Regions from separate parts of the Homo sapiens genome. Here region 2 is linked to region 1. Evidence: promoter capture Hi-C in human tissues and cell types (Jung and others, 2019). All regions are on one chromosome and are shown on one strand. Each heading gives the region's core, a stretch centred on a gene start or on the middle of the fragment in contact. The rest is flanking DNA. Distances are from core to core; before and after follow the strand shown.

What was found. Contacts are between HindIII fragments. The study calls those that stand out against the background at their distance.
Region 2: a contact is called between a fragment that was not itself captured here and the fragment with the promoter of BPIFB3 in region 1, in 1 of the 25 tissues and cell types used here (neural progenitor cells).

The regions. Positions count from the first base shown.
Region 1 is chr20:33,052,492-33,055,555 of GRCh38, forward strand. It overlaps BPIFB3 (BPI fold containing family B member 3), which reads left to right and starts at 1,412. Exons shown (of 16, transcript NM_001376932.3): 1 at 1,412-1,474; 2 at 2,931-3,056. The coding sequence starts at 2,945. RefSeq lists enhancers at 698-1,232, 1,233-1,766. The HindIII fragment of the contact is 12,456 bases long and covers 1-3,064 here.
Region 2 is chr20:33,103,270-33,106,333 of GRCh38, forward strand. It overlaps BPIFB4 (BPI fold containing family B member 4), which reads left to right. Exons shown (of 18, transcript NM_182519.3): 16 at 1,541-1,604. Among named protein-coding and RNA genes, the nearest start is that of BPIFB4, 25 kb to the left of the region's middle. The HindIII fragment of the contact is 8,468 bases long and covers 1-3,064 here.

The DNA.
Region 1 (3,064 bases), core at 162-2,661:
GCTGGGATTACAAGCATGCGCCACCAAGCCTGGCTAATTTGTGTGTGTGTGTGTGTGTATATATATATATATATATATATATATATATATATATAATTTTTTTTTTATTTTTTTTGAGGCAGAGTCCCTCACTGTCACCCAGGCTGGAGTGTGATCTCAGCTCACTGCAAGCTCCGCCTCCTGGGTTCACGCCATTCTCCTCTCTCAGCCTCCCAAATAGCTGGGACTACAGGCTCCTGCCACCACACCCAGCTAATTTTTGTATTTTTAGTAGAGACGGAGTTTCACCATGTTGGTCAGGTTGGTCTTGAACTCCTGACCTTGTGATCTGCCTGCCTCGGCCTCCCAAAGTGCTGGGTTTACAGGCGTGAGCCACCGCGCCCAGCCCCAACTTACTGTATTATGTGCTTATTTGTCCCTTTCAGAGCTGTGCTTTCCAATATGACAGCCAATAGCCATACAAGGCGATTGCCTGAAGTGCGACAAGTCCAAATCTTGGTGTGCTGTAAGCAGATTTTGAAAACTTAGTATGAGAAAAAGAAAGTAAAGTACCCCATTCATAATTTTCTGTTGGTTATATGTTAAATGAGAATATTTTGGATTTGGTGGGGGTAAATAAACTAGACTATTATAATTAATTTCACCTGTTTCTTTTTGCCTTTCAAAAAATGTGGCTACTAGAAAGTTTTAAATTGCATTGCATTTCCACTAGTCGGCTCCTTCAGGGCAGGGGAGATTGTCTCTTTTATTTACAGCGATTTCCCCAGCATCTAGCAGACAGTGGGTGCCTCACAAATGCCTGCAGTGGAGTGAATGAATGGACGCATTTCTCGTCGCTGTCATCTGCACCAGCCTCGGAAAGGGGACAAAGCTCTGGAACTCTGGGGATACTGAGCCTTGGGAGGTGGGGGTGGAGTTGATGCCCCTCCCCCAAGTGTGCCCAGAGTCCCTGTCTCCAGGCCCATAGCCCTCTCCATGTGAGGCCTGGTGCGGGGGGAGGGTGGCGGAAGGTAGAAGACCCAGCAGCTTTAAGTCCCTTCTTTCCCTCCGTAGGCCTTCGCTGGGGAAGGGGTGGGGTAGGCAGGGTAGATTCTGTGCCATTGGAATGGCTCTTGGGGAGCCTTGGAGGGAGCCCAATAGGTGGCTGAATGGGTAGGTGGCAGGGCCCCACACCTCACCCCTGGCTCTGAGGGAGGTGGCTGCCTGTGCAGCCCCCACGCCTTCACTCCCACTCCTGGGCACCGACCCCAGTCCCCTTACTCGCCTCCAAGGAGGAAGGCTTAGCCCAGGCCCTCGGGGAAAACCGCAATTTGCTTCTGACATGACATATTGACGGGATTCTGGCGGCCGTGGCCCCTTTGTGTCCTCAGAGCCGCGTGGGCATATAAGGGCCACCCCTCAGCTCGCGTGGGTGGAGGAACCGACAGGAGGCCGGGAGCCCCCACCTACCCCTTGTGGAGCTGCAGGAGCAAGGGTAAGACAGCCTGAGGCAGCCCTGCTCTTGTCCTGACGCCCAGCCGTTGACCCCACTGCCTTCTGCCCTCCCATATGAATGATGGGCACGGAAAGAACTCACCCTAGGAGGAGACTGGGGGTACCAAGAGGGTGGATGAAGAGAAAAACCATGTTACAGATCTGGGGCCCAGAGAGAGGCAAAGACTTGTATATATTCACAGCCGGAGGGGTGGGCAGGGGATCCCTGTCCATAGGATGATCCTATGGAGAGAGTTCCAGGAGTGCCCATTTTTCTCCTGGCCAGTGACATGCTGCTGAATTTCTATCCCCTGCCCCCTCAGCAGGGACCCCTTCTGACACACAACCACGCACAGAGGCCTTAGACATGGTCCCTGCCTTCATGGAGTTTACAGGGAAGAGAAATAAGGACACAAACAGATGCATAATTGCAAATGGAGATCAGCACCTTAAAGTAAATATTCTGCGTGATGTTTAGTGACAGACGGATTTCTTTAGACAAAGTGAAGGACGGAGGCCTCTCCAGGGAGGCAATGTTTATCCGGAATCTCAATGATAAGGAGTCAGCCATGCAAAGAAGCAGGGAGGAGCCTTCCTAACAAGGAACCGCATGTGCAAAGGCCCTGGGGTGGGAAGGGGCCTGGCATGTTTAAGCTCAAGGAGGTCAAAAAGGCAGGCAGGGATTTTGTGGGTAATGGCAAGAAGCCTGGGTTTCAACCCAGGGCAGCGGGGAGCCACTGAAGGGTTTAAGCAGGAGTGATGGGTGGGCATAGATGGATATGTGATTGGGTGGGCAAATACGGAACTGCTTAAAGAAAAATCCCACTCTGTGAACTTAGCAGATTAGCCATGCCCCCACCTGCCACCCCATTCCCTTTTTCAACAAGATTTGGGGTGGAGGTGGGGGAAGGAGAAAGATAAGACATGTTAAGTCTAAGTGTTGGGTGTCCCCAGTCAGCTAGACCTTCTGAAACAGCCTCATGAGCCAGTGGGAAGCAGCTGCTGGAAACAAAGCTCTCATCCTGCTGTCCTGGAGGGGGAAGCCCCTCTGTCTGCAGCTGTCACTCCAGACACCCGGCCAGGCTCACTGGGCCTCTGAGGATGAAGATTTTTATGTCAGATGGACTCAGGCTTGAATTCTGACTGTCTCTGATTAGTTCTGTGGCCTTGGTCTAGTCCCCTACCCCTTTCGGTCTCAGTTTTCCCAGCTGAGAAATGGAACCCAATGAGGGAGAGGCTTGGAAAGTGCCTTGGAGACTTGAGTGCATTGGCAGCTGCACCGTGCCACCTGCGTGTTAGCTCTGCTTACATTTGGGAGGAGAAGGCTTTCCTGGGAGTGAAGCTCAATTTGGGCTGTGCCAGGTGGGCAGGAAGGGGGAAGGCTGATAATGGGAACAGAGAGGGGAAAGGCTTGAGCAGGAGAAGGGTCTCAGAGTTCCTCCTTCTGCTCCTTATAGGCATGCAGCCAGTCATGCTGGCCCTGTGGTCCCTGCTTCTGCTCTGGGGCCTGGCGACTCCATGCCAGGAGCTGCTAGAGACGGTGGGCACGCTCGCTCGGATTGACAAGGATGAACTCGGCAAAGGTGAGCCC
Region 2 (3,064 bases), core at 305-2,804, 51 kb after region 1:
CTGCCCCATGGGGGGCCACTTGGCCCAAATCGCTCCATTTCAGGGTGGGGAGGCACAGTGGGCAGCCTTGTCCTACAGGACCACTTTCCTTCTGGAGTTAGGAGCCCACTGACTCCTGTGTGACCTTGAGCGATATCAACCCACTCTGAGCCTCAGTTTCCCCATCTGTAAAATGAATACAATTTGAGTTCATTTCTAACCTCCCTTCTTGCCCCTGGGTTGTGGAATTCTGCTTTTCCAAGGGTCCAGAAATCTGAGATGCTCACATTCTAGCGTTGGGTCCTGTTTTATCTCTTTGTTCACTCTTGGGTGCCCCACCCCCACCTAAGGCTTCAGAAACACTCCTTCCTCCCCACCCCCCCACCTCCGCTTTTTATAAATTGACAACTAAGCATCTGCTAGCTTTCTGGGACAAGCTTGGATGAGATCTCCACATGTGCAGAAAAAGTCAAACCCATTCATTGTGTTGCTAATTTTATAGCTTTTCTAACCCAAAAAGCTACAGCCTGTGAAGCCGATCTTGCCAGCTTCATTTTATAAGGATAAACTGCCCAAGGCTTCCCAGCTGGTTGGGGCAGAGTTGGGATTAGAACTGAAATCTCTGGACTCCAAGTGAAGAAAGGGGCTGACAGTGTAAAATTAATGAATTAATGAAGCTATCGAGATGGGCCCTAGGCACTGAATTATGCTTTTTTTTCTCTTTTAATGAGGTTTTCTCATTTAATCCTTACCACCGTGTTATGATTTGGGTATTATTATTACACCCATTCTTCCAAATAAGGAAGGTAAGCTCAAGTGACTTGCCCAAGGCAACAGAGCTAGGAAGAGGCACTGCCGGAAAGTGAGTCCATGCCCTCACCCTCTGCAGACTGGAACATCAGGCATGTTACATATAGGGGCTTATGTCTGATTTTTATAACCACCCTATGAGGCAAGGGTTACTCACTCCTGTTTTCAGATGTGGAAACCAAGGCTTAGAGAAGTTAAGGGAGGTAACATATGAAAAGGCTCAAGGCCAGGAGTTTTACGTGATCTACCCACCATCCTCACCGCATCCTTGCAAACTCAGCTCACTGACCCATTTTACAGCTGAGGAAGCTGAGGGTTAGAGAGGTGAAGGAGCCTGCCCAGAGGCCCACGGAGACTGAGCTGGGATGGGAACCTGGGGTGTTGGCTCCAGGGCCATTGGGACTTCTGTGATGCCATGACAGTGCCATCGGGGCCAGGCCACCCTGAAACCTGTGCTCTGTGCCTCCCAGGGGAGGAACTAGGCCTCCCTCAATCCCTGCTTCATAGGGGCCTTGGGCCACCACCCATGCTGGGCCTCAGTCTGCCCATCTGCACAATGTGCAAGTTGATGGGGGGCACCTTAAGGCTGCCGGTGAGAAATTCTGGGGTCTCAGGGGTTCTGACTGCCAGAACCTAGACTCTCCCAGAGCAGGTCTGTGTCTCCACCTTGAGCCAGGGGAGCAGACCCAAGGGGCCCTCTGGAGCTGAGCAAACCCCCTGCCCAGGCTCTGTCCTCCTTCTTCCTCTGCAGATTGGCCTCATGGAGGTGCTGGTGGAGAAGATTTTTGACCTGGCATTCATGCCCGCAATGAACGGTGAGAGCGGGTGCCTGTGCCTCTCTGGGAGCTTGTGGCTTGGGTACTGGGGGATACTGGCTTGTTGGGCATGCTGGATGTGCATCTATCCTACCTCAATAGTATTTCTGAGCACTTCCTTTGAAGCGTGTCGATGAAAGCCTCCAAATCCAAACGTGGCCCCCAAAGTTCCAGCACCTTCCTTATTTGCTTCTTTCTTGTTTGGCTGATTGTTTTATTTTTCTGATTATCTATGAAAATTCCGATTATGTATTAACATTGTGTGTGTGCAAGTTTTAGAAAATATAAAACAATTTAAAAAAAACTCACCTCGCAGAGGCAATGAATCTCAACATCTGAGCATATTTCCTTCTAAACTCTTTTTCTCCATTGTTTTCCCATATGATTGAGATCTTTCCTGACTCATATTTAAACATGTATTTATTTTTAATGATACAGGAACTACAGGAATACATTCTTATTGTGAAAAGTTCCATTGGCGCAGATACAGCTAAAGTTGCTCTTATCGACATCCCCAGCCTCCTTCCTAGCCCAGAATCTGCCCCCCTAGGGAACCACATCAAGTTAGGAGGTTTTCTTGCCCAACTTTATAAACAGAGTAGACTGAGCTTGCTTTGCTCTCTGGGGCGTCTCAGGAATGTTACTGGGAAGGCTGCTTGTTGAACTATGGGGGTCATTGGCTACTCACATACTGGGACTGGGAAACTGCCCAAGCCCTGGGGTCACTGGGCCCCAGACTCTCTCCCACTCCTGCTTCCTGGATGAGAAGACAAGGAGGGCTGGCACATCCCAGCCAATGTCATCAGCTACACCAGCGGGGGTTCTGTTGGAGCCATCTTGATGTCAAACAAACCCTTGTTCTGGGCCCTGTGGTCAGAGGAAGCCGAGTCTCACTGGTGGGGAAAGTGGTGGTTTCTCTGTGAGAGGATGGGGTCAGGGGCTGGGCTGGGCTGACCTGGGAGGGAAGAGACGGAGCGTCTTGCCTGGCTTAATCACTAAGAGTGGTGTGAACTTGGGGGCGAGTCTTTTAATCATACTGAAGTGCAATTCACCATTTTCAAAATGAGAGCTTGGACAAGGTCCATAGTCCCCAAAGTGAGCTCCGTAAAGCAGTCCCACAAAATACCCTGCAAAAAGCGTTCCATGGCCGAGCAAGTTTGGGAAGTGCTGAAGATACTCCTGCAGGGTAGATTCACAATGTCCTTAGCTTTTTGAAAAGTCCTGCTGGAATAGAGAAGTCTGTTAAATTTCACTTAATTTACTTCCCCCATCCACTCTTTCCTACCCCACTTCTTTTTCTCTCTTCCTGCTCTCTTTCTAGAACAGTAATTAGCAGGTTTACTTAGGCTCTGACAATCTGAAAACAAACAGCACATCCCACGGCAGAGTCAATGGCTAGGGCTCCACGTGCACTTTCCATTACTTCACTCGGCAAACATTTGCCATCTCCTCTATGACTG